3 separate regions of the Homo sapiens genome follow, and regions 2 and 3 are each linked to region 1. Evidence: promoter capture Hi-C in 16 types of primary human blood cells and fetal thymus (Javierre and others, 2016). All regions are on one chromosome and are shown on one strand. The core of a region is centred on a gene start or on the middle of the fragment in contact, and the rest is flanking DNA. Distances in the headings are between cores, read along the strand shown. Region 1 holds the start of TMEM87B (transmembrane protein 87B). Region 2 has its middle 19 kb from the start of RGPD8. Region 3 has its middle 4.2 kb from the start of TTL.

The links. The method cuts DNA at HindIII sites, captures the fragments that hold promoters and counts their contacts. A CHiCAGO score of 5 or more calls a contact.
Region 2: a contact is called between a fragment that was not itself captured here and the fragment with the promoter of TMEM87B in region 1, in 1 of 17 cell types (M1 macrophages). The highest score is 5.0, in M1 macrophages.
Region 3: a fragment that was not itself captured here is called in contact with the fragment with the promoter of TMEM87B in region 1 in 7 of 17 cell types (non-activated CD4 T cells, fetal thymus, naive CD8 T cells and 4 more); the score reaches 7.8 in non-activated CD4 T cells.

What each region holds. Positions count from the first base shown.
Region 1 is chr2:112,053,961-112,057,336 of GRCh38, reverse strand. It overlaps TMEM87B (transmembrane protein 87B), which reads right to left and starts at 2,068. Exons shown (of 19, transcript NM_032824.3): 1 at 1,581-2,068. The coding sequence starts at 1,745. RefSeq lists enhancers at 927-1,266, 1,297-1,366 and silencers at 2,097-2,826, 3,027-3,076. The HindIII fragment of the contact is 6,387 bases long and covers 1-3,376 here.
Region 2 is chr2:112,451,196-112,454,547 of GRCh38, reverse strand. No RefSeq gene overlaps it. Among named protein-coding and RNA genes, the nearest start is that of RGPD8, 19 kb to the right of the region's middle. The HindIII fragment of the contact is 1,664 bases long and covers 1,169-2,832 here.
Region 3 is chr2:112,476,299-112,479,700 of GRCh38, reverse strand. No RefSeq gene overlaps it. Among named protein-coding and RNA genes, the nearest start is that of TTL, 4.2 kb to the left of the region's middle. The HindIII fragment of the contact is 2,753 bases long and covers 713-3,402 here.

The sequences.
Region 1 (3,376 bases), core at 819-3,318:
GTGCCACTGCACTCCAGCCTAGGTAACAGAACAAGACTCTGTCTCAAACAAACAAAAACAAAGAAACAAAATTTCCTGATAGATTTGCAGTACAAATGAAAGAAAGCCCCACTCTCCTTTCCTGTTTCTGACAACCTGAAATGTGGAAAATATAAGTCCACTCTTGGGAGAGAAGGGCTTTTAGACTTCTGGCGGCCCAGGGTCACACAGGAGTAAAATTAGCCTAAAGGTCATGCAGCACTCAAGGAGCAAACTTCTCTTCCTCATGCAGGAAGAAGTACACTTGGCAAAGATCTTTGCAGGTATGTTCACAGTACACTTAGCAAAGATCTATACAGATATGTTCAAGTAATCCAACAATATGCATGCAACTGATTCACTTCCAATATAGTTATATTGACTATTCACTATCGTAGCAGCAGGAAGCCATGAGAGTAGTTCACTGAGTTCTACTTTTTCCCGTTCAGGAAATTAAATAATGGAGATGTGCAGACTATAACTGGCACACAAATTAGGTCACCAACCCAGAAGAATCCAATCCTGGAGGAAATGGCTGCACTAGGTCTTAAAAGATCCAGAAAGATACCCAGCGTGTTCCTCTGAGTAGCTTTTGTGTTGTGGGAAGTATTTGTAGTCTTTGGAACTACTTTCTTTTTCTGGTTAAGGAAATCAAAATATAAGTCTCATCTTTAGAACCTGGACATTATTTCATGCATGTGGAAAATACCCATCCCAAACAGTGCTGGATGAGTCATCTGACCCCAGAGAAGCCGGAGATAATGCCTCTTCCAGACTTCCTGTCTCTCTTTTGCAAGACTTTCCATAATTCTGCCCCTGCATCTCTCCCACATCATCTCCTCTAATTACCAGACGCCAAGTTTTCTAATAGCCTGCCTTGGAAAGAAGAGTTTCCACCCACTCATGCCTCCAGATTCGCCTTTCAAGCACTCCCTAATCACAAGTCCCGCCCCACCTACACACACACTCTCTCTCCCGGAACTGTGACAGGAACTGTAGAGAAATTCAGGAACTCAAGAAGAGAGAAATAGAGGTAGGGTGACTACTGCACGTTTCCCCCTCATTTAAATTTTTTCTTTCTTTTTTTTTTTTAAGGAAGCGGCAGACCCGCTTTCTAAGTTTATGCAGAAACTGAAGCGCTGGCAAGTCCTCCCTGCGGCCTCAGGGGTGTGGCCCACTGTGGCTGCATCCGGACAGGAAGAGTCGAATCCCAAAGATGCTGCTAGATGTGCCGAGAGATTCCTGATCCAGCCAAAACATGTCAGAGCAGAATGAGGGCCACGGCGTCGGGCATGGTGACCCTCAGTAACAGTCCGAGCGCTCGGACCCGAGGGCCGTCCCATGCGCAATCCTGACGGCTCTTGCCTGCAGCCCAGGTCGGGCCGGAGGAGGGGCCGCTCCCCGCTCCCCGGCTGTAACAGACAAAAGGCTCAGGGAGGGTATCAGGGGACCCGGTGCTGACCCGGCAGAGGCAGGGTGAACAAGCCCGGGGTCAAGCGAAGCCGCACGACGGCCCTGACGGCCCGAGACGTGCCACGCCTGGGTCCCGACACTCCACTTACGTCGTTGACTGTCTCTAACCAGAGCCCGAGCTCAGGGACCGCGCGCACAGCCGCCGGGGTCCAGCACAGGAGGCAGAGGGCGACGCGCAGCAGCGGGGCCCGGGCGGGAAAGCAGCGGCGGCGGCGTGGCAGGAGCCCGGCTACCGAGCGGCAGGCGGCGACCATCTTGACCAGGAAGCTGCACCTGGCGCTCCGAGACGCCTGCCACACCCGCACCTGGTGCAGCACCGCCCCAGGCAGGCGGGTCCGAATCCGGGACGCGGGGCTCGGACTCGGGTGTGGAGGAGGGGCTCGCGCTTGGGCCTGGGCGGAGAGGCGCCGTGCAGTTCTGGGAAACCCGGCCAGGACCGGGAGGCAGGGCTTAGGGCTCTGAGCCGGGCCCGAGCGTGCAGCTGGGAGATGCCTGGAAGGCAGAGATAGGAGCCAGGATGTGGAGTTGGCGGCGAGACGTGGAGGCTGGGCTCAGGGCCTAGCGTGGGCGTGAAGATAGAAGAGGAGCCGGAACGTGCAAGGGAGGGCTGGCAGCCCGAGCGCGGAGGCGGGGCCGGGTAGGGAGGCGCCGCCGGAGTGTGGAGACGAGGCGGGGCTCGGGAGTGTGGGGGCGGGGTGGGAGGCGTGGCTCGGGGCCAAGCTGGGTGTGGGGACAGGGCAGGGTTGGAGGCGGGCTCGGGACTGTGGAGGCGGGGCGGGGCTCGGGACCAGGGCGGAGTGCGGAGGCAGGGTGCCCCAGGAAGGAAGAGCTTGGGGCCAGGCCGAGCGTGGAGGCGGGGCCGTGTGGAGGCGGGGCCGTGTGGAGGCGGGGCCGTGTGGAGGCGGGGCCGTGTGGAGGCGGGGCCGTGTGGAGGCGGGGCCGTGTGGAGGCGGGGCCGTGTGGAGGCGGGGCCGTGTGGAGGCGGGGCCGTGTGGAGGCGGGGCCGTGTGGAGGCGGGGCGGGGCTCGGGACCAGGCCGGAGTGCGGAGACAGAGTGCCCCAGGAAGGAAGAGCTTGGGGCCAGGCCGAGCGTGGAGGCGGGGCCGCGTGGAGGCGGGGCCGTGTGGTGGCGGGGCCGTGTGGAGGCGGGGCGGGGCTCGGGACCAGGCCGGAGTGCGGAGACAGAGTGCCCCAGGAAGGAAGAGCTTGGGGCCAGGCCGAGCGTGGAGGCGGGGCCGCGTGGAGGCGGGGCCGCGTGGAGGCGGGGCCGGGATTTGGAGGCAAGACCCGGCGGGGAGGCGGAGCCTGAGCGTAAAGGCGGGGCTGGTCAGGGAGATGGGGTCGGAGTGGGGAGGCGGAGTTGAGGACCAGGCAGTAGTGTGGAGACGGGGCTGGACGAGAAGGGCTTGGGGTTAGGCCGTAGTGGGGAGGCCAGGTTGGGCGAGGAAGCAGGGCTTGGAGCAAGCCCTAGTACGGAGACGGGACTGGGCGGGGAGGCGTGGCCTGAGTGAGGAGACGGGCCTGAGTGGGGAGGCGGGGCCTGAGTGGGGAGGCGGGGCCTGTCTGGGAGATGAGGCGCAGTGGGGAGGCGGGGCTCGCCGCCAGCGAGCGCGAGTGTCAAGGTCCTGGAGTCGAATGCCTAGTAAGTGCTACGGTTGGAGTGCAGTCTAGAGTTCTGTTCCCAGGGTGTCTCCATTTCTTGCGTCTTCTACACTTACCCCTGCCTCGACCCTCTCAGCTGTATGGAAACCGTTCTTTAAATTCAGGGAATGTGCCAGGAAAGTGCTTTGAGGCCAAGGCCAGTTGAACACAAGGCATTGTGTTGTGAAGGTTAACGTTAATAGGACAGTTAATACTTTTCAGAACAAGTAGTTACTTGACTGGC
Region 2 (3,352 bases), core at 751-3,250, 400 kb before region 1:
AGTTCAAGATCAGCCTGGCTACAAGGTCATTAACTAGAGTGGAATTTCAAAGCCTGATCTACCTCAGGATATGCTTGCCCTGCTGAGGGAGGGAGATGTTATATGTAAAGGAGCAGCAGGGCCTGAATAACAGGGATTAAGAGAACTGGTAGTGTGTACCTAGGAATAGATCTTAATGGCTAGGAGTCAAGGTTGGGTAGAAGGTGAGGCTGCATAAGGAAGCTGTTCATATTAGGTGTCAACTTGATTGGATTGAAGGACACCTAGATAGCTGGCATTGTTTCTGGGTGTGTCTGTGAGGGTATTGCCAGAGGAGACTGACATTTGAGTTGTTGGTTTGGGAGAGGAAGACCCACCCTCAGTGTGGGTGGGCACCATCCAATCTAGCTGCCAGGCTAGAATGAAGAAGGCAGAAAATAGGATAAGTTTGCTTGTTGAGTCTTCTGGCTTTCTTTCTTCTTCCCATGCCGGCCACTGGCTTCCACTCTTCCTGCCCTTGGACCTCAGACTCCAGTGGCTTCCTGAGAGCTCTTAGGCCTTTGGCCTCAGACTGAAGCTGCATTGTTGGCTTCCCTGGTTTTGAGGCCTTCTGACTTGGACTGAGCCACTACTGATTCTCTCTTTCCCCAGCTTGCAGACAGTCACCTTGTAATCATGTGAGGCAGTTTTCCCTAATAAACTCCTGTAGATAGATAGATAGATAGAGATATAGATATAGGAGAGAGATATATATACACACACATACATATATGTGATATATGATATATCACATATATCATATAGGATATATCTATATATCCTATACATCCTATACATCTATATATCCTATACATCCTATATATCCTATACAAATATATAGGATATATCTATGTATCCTAGGATATATAGATATATAGATACATATATATAGATATATAGATATATCCTAGGATACATAGATATATATCTATGTATCTATATATCCTATACATCCTATTTGATAGGATGTATAGGATATATATAGGATATATCCGTATATCCTATACATCCTATTTGTTCTCCCCCTCTGGAGAACTCCAATACAGAAGCCTTCTCAAGGTGGGGGCATCTTTTACATAACACAAGATTTAACACCTGCAATGAGCCCCACAAGAAAGCTCTAATATACCGCTGCAAAGCTTCAGAAGCTTGGAAAAATCAATGGCCCACATTAAATGAAGCAGAGATGCCAGAACTATGGACAAAGAGTTCAAAAAGACACTCCATTTATCAGAGCTAAGAAGGCACTGGTGGGAGGGCAGCAGCATCAATGAGAGGCACGGTAGCAAATGTCTTCTGAAGGTCAAGAAGAATGGTGGGGATGCTGTTACAGAACTGGACTTCCTGTTAGCAATGGGGAGCATAGGATCCCAGCACAGTAAGGGCCATATGACAGCTCCTAAATGTCAGGAGGAAGGTGAGCATCATTACTGTACTAGACAGCAAGGTTGGAATCACAGTCAGAAAGATGTCTCTTGTTTATGTAAACTTGTCTGGTAATATCAACATGATAATTTATTTAATAAGCTATCATTTTCTCATTAAATTGAAATACTGTGCCATTGTCTTACATTAAATTCTGAAATGTGCTTGATTTATCTCTGGATTCTGTAGTCTGAATATCCTTGGGTCAGTTCAATAGTGGGCTGATTGTAGTGTTTTTTTTAGGAGATTCAACTACCTAAAAATGATTAAGTATAGGAACTTACATAAGATAGGTTTATTTCTCTGAAAATCCAAAGCTGGCAGGATGTCCAAGTGATGTAGGCTGCTGCAACCTATGAGTTAATTCAAGGAGCCAAATTCTTTTTTGTTTTCGTAGCCATCCCTTAGGGTGTTACCTGCATAGTCTCACTATACCTATGTTCCAGCCCATGGTATGAGAGAAAAATGGGGGAGAGAAACAAAATCCTTTTTAAGGGCATAACCCCAAAGTCACATGACTTTATTCCATATGTGTGCCTTTAGTCAGAATGTAGTCACACTACCAATCTAGCTAAAAAGGAGTCCAGAGAACGTAATCTCTGACAGGTTGGCCTATTCTTAGATAAAACTAATGGGAAGAAGAGAAATGGACACAGGAAGTTGGTAATGAGCCTTCAAGATGGCCCCCAATAATCCCTGACACCTAGTATTTACAATCTTGTGTAGTCCCCTCCCATGTTACACTAAGTTTAATCTGTGTGTCCAACATCATAGGCAAGAGTGATAGCATGTCACGTCTGAGAATAGATTACAAAAAGACGACAGCCAGTCTTGAGATCTCTCTCTGACCACTTGCTCTGGGGGAAGCCAGTTGCTATGTTGTGAGGTAGCCCTGTGGAGAAACCTATATGGAAAGAACTGAGTGTCTGGCCTCCCAACAACCATACAGTGAGCTTGGAAGTGGATTCTCCAGCCTCAGTCAGGCCTTGAGATGTTGCAGCTCAGGCGGATAGCTTGACTACACCCTCGTGAGACACTCTGAGCCAGAACCACCCAGCTAAGCTGCAGGTGGATTCCTGATCCTCAGAAACTGAGGTAATAAATGCTTGTTATTTTAAGCTGCTATGTTTGAGGGTAATTATTACACACTCTGTTGCTGCATAACGAATTGCTCCAGAGCTTAGTGGCTTAAAACCCCTACGTTTATTAGCTCATAGATTCTTTGAGTCAGGAATCTGGACATAACGTAGCTGGATCCTTGGGCTCTGGTTGCAGTCAAGGTGTCAGCAGGGCTGCAGTTACCTTCAGGCTTGATTAGGGATAGATCAGCTTCCAAGCACTCTCACATGGTTGTTGGCCAGTTTCTACATGGGTTATTAGACTAAAGCTTCAATTCCTCAAAAGCTGTTGGCTGGAAGCCTCTCTTGGTTCCTTACTACATAGGCTTTTCCATTGGGCAGTTTACAACATGCCTGCTGGCCTCACTACAGTGAGCAAGAAAGAGGGTAAGAGATGGTAAGCAAGAAAAAAGCCACAGTCTTTTGTAACTTAATCTTTGAAGTAATATTGTCAGAGGTGTTTGAACCAGAGCGACTCCATATTGAATAGGGGCTGGGTAAAATTAGGCTGAGACCTATTGGGGTGCATTCCCAGGAGGTTAGGCATTCTTAGTCATAGGATGACATAGGAGATCAGCACAAAGTACAAAGACCTTGCTGATAAAACAGTTTGCAGTAAAGAAGCCAGCCAAAACCTACCAAACCCAAGATGGCAATGAAAGTGACCTCTGGTCATTCTCACTGCTCGTTATCCACGAATTATAATGCGTTAGCATGCTAGAAGACATTCCCATCAGTGCCATGACAGTTTACAAATGCCTTAGCAATGTCTGGAAGTTACCCTGCATGGT
Region 3 (3,402 bases), core at 840-3,339, 420 kb before region 1:
CTTAGAATTTGGATGTGCCCTCTTCTTCTGGAGACAGTACGTACAGTCAGCAGCAATATTGGAACAAAGAATGTAAGGAATTTGCCAAAACTGGCAGTACCCTGGATTATAAAGTAAACTCCAGCAATTTCAAAAGATTGAAATAATTCTGAACACTTTTCTGACAATAGTGGAATTAAGTTGCATGGAGATTAAGTGATATTGTACACTGCTAAATAACCCATGAATCCGTGAAGAAATCACAATATGAGAAAGTATTTTCTAACTGAATGAGAATAAAGATATGGCATAGCAAAACTGGTAGGATACAGCTAAAGCTGTTTTTAATAAAAAAATTACAGTCTAAAGTACATATGTGTTTTTTTTTGTTTTGTTTTGTTTTTGAGACGGAGTCTGGCTCTGTGGCCCAGGCTGGAGTGCAGTGGTGTGATCTCGGCTCACTGCAAGCTCTGCCTCCCGGGTTCACGCCATTCTCCTGCCTCAGCCTCCCGAGTAGCTGGGACTACAGGCGCCCGCCACTACGCCCGACTAATTTTTTGTATTCTTTTTTTTTTTTTTTTTTTTAGTAGAGACGGGGTTTCACCGTGTTAGCCACGATGGTCTCGATCTCCTGACCTCGTGATCCGCCCGCCTCGGCCTCCCAAAGTGCTGGGATTACAGGCGTGGGCCAAGTACGTATGTTTTTAAAAGAAGACTGAAAATCAATTAAGCTTCCATCTCATGAAACTAGAAAAAGAATAATAAGCAAAACCCAAAGTAAGTAAAAGGAAATAAATCCTAAGGGAAGAAATCAAGGAAGTAGAAAATAAATGTACAATAAAGAAATCAAAGGCAAAGGGGATATATTTTAAAAAATTTAAAATTGTTAAGCATTCAAGACCAACAAATGAAAGGAAGAACAATCAAAGTTAAAATGAAAAAGGTCAGATGCAAGAAGATTTAAAAATATTTTTAAACAAATTTTTTAATGAAAAAAGAAACATCACTAGAGATCCTGAAGGTATTAAAAACAATAAGATCCGGCCAGGCGCGGTGGCTCACGCCTGTCATCCCAGCACTTTGGGAGGCCGAGGCGGGTGGATCACCAGAGGTCGGGAGTTTGAGATCGGCTTGACCAACATGGAGAAACCCTGCCTCTACTAAAAATACAAAAAATCAGCTGGGCGTGGTGGCGCACGCCTGTAATCCCAGCTACTCGGGAGGCTGAGGCAGGAGACGGTCTTGAACCCGGGAGGCGGAGGTTGCCGTGAGCCAAGATCGCGCCACTGCACTCCAGCCTGAGCAACAAGAGCGAAACTCCGTCTCAAAAAAAGAAAGAAAGAAAGAAGATCCTATGATCAATTTTTGCAAATGAATTTGACGTGTGGACAAAATAGACTACTTCCTTGAAAAATCCAGTTTACCAAAAATGACACAGAAATACAAAATCTGAATAATTTCACACCTATTAAAGAGATTGATTCTATTCGCAGATAACATATATGTAGAAAATTCTACCAAAAAAACCCTTAAGGACTACCCACACATACATACCCACGAAATGTTAGAATTAATAAACAAATTAGAATTAATAGAATTAATAAACAAATTCAGCAAACTTTTGGAACAGCCCAAAATAATCCAAGAAAAAATTAAGAAAACAATTTCATTTATAGTACCATCAAATAACCCGTTTATTAAGGGAAAATTTGAAAAAAATAAAACTGTCACTTTTCCCATATGATATGGTTCTATACATAGTGGATCCTGAAGAACCTATACTAATTGAATGAATAACTGAACATTGTAAAGTCACTAGATACAAGGTATATATACAGATATAAATTGTATTTCTGTATGTCAACAACAAAGAAATAGAAAAAAAATTTTTAAAAGATACGATTTACAGTAGCATCAATATAAATGTGAAATAATTAGGAGTATCTAATGAAAGCTGTGCATTGCCTCTACACTGAAAATTACAAAGCATAATCGAGAGAAAATTTAAAAGCATAAAATAAATGAAAGGATGTACCATGTTCATGACTGAAAGACTCAAAATTGTTAAGGTGTCAAATTGATCTATAGATTCAATACAATCCCAAACAAAATCTCTGCAGAGCCATTCATGGAAATTGACAAGGTAATTCAAAAATTTATATAGAAATGCAAGGGACTGGCTGGGCGCGGTGGCTCATGCCTGTAATCCCAGCACTTTGAGAGGCCGAGGCGGGCAAATTGCCCGAGGTTAGGAGTTCGAGACCAGTCTAGGCAACATGGTGAAACCCCAGTTCTACTAAAAGTACAAAAAAATTAGCCGGCCATATGTTTTTTAAAAAAGACTGAAAATCTTTTTAAAGATTTTCATGGTGGCATGATTTTTAAGATTTTTAAGATTTTAAGATTCCATGGTGGCATGCACCTGTAATCCCAGCTACTCGGGAGGCTGAGGCAGGAGAATTACTTGAACTGGGGAGGTAGAGGTTGCAATGAGCTGAAGATTGCGCCATTGCACTCCAGCCTGGGCGACAGAGTGAGACTCCAACTCAAAAAGAAAAAAAAGAAAAAAGAAAAAGAAACTCTGACTCAAAAAGAAAAAAAAAAAAGAATAGCAAAGGTAATCTTTAAGAAAGTTGGAGGATTTACACTACCAGGTATCAAGACCTGACTATCAAAGTTATAGTATGTAAGTACAAAGCTGTAGCAATTAAGGAAGCATGGTTTTAGCATAAGAAGGGAAAAATTAACCAATGTAATAAACAGACCAATGTAACCCATGTAGGGAAAACCCATTTTAAGTTGTTTGGGGGTCTAAGTATAGGACACAAAGAAAAGACATGAAGGGAGGAGTAGTTCAGGATTTTGAGGCTTGCTTTTTAGGAGCACCACTCTTAAGCCCACGTAAGAAAACTTTAGAGGCTCTCACTCCGGCCCTGCTCTAGCCACATTCTTCCCTACAGATGAGACGTTTGTGAGGTCAAGGAGTTAATGGCCACCAGGAGACTGTCACCCTCCCAGTTTCTAGGATGTGCCAGATATCCGGGAACCAGAATTCACTGTCCAGAGATCAAAGCCTATTTCCTGGCCCTGCTCAGGCTTCCTCCCCGGGCCCATGTCCCAAGGGTCAGTGGCACTGCTGGTGTAGGCACCCATAGGCCTGGGCAGTGGCCAAGGGGCGGCTGTTTGTGGGTGAGGAGGAATGGATGCTCAGCTGTGAAGAGCAGTGTCCTCGCTTGAGTTCCTCAAAAAGGTGGCCCTGGAACTCACAATTGCATTGTATGTATGTTATAAACAACCTGATTTATATCAAAGGTGACATTGCAGATGAGTAGGGGCAGAGATGGGCTTACAGATGGAGCTGGGTCAAGGATATCCATATGGAAAACTAAATAAACCTTGACTCCTATCACATGCTATACTCAA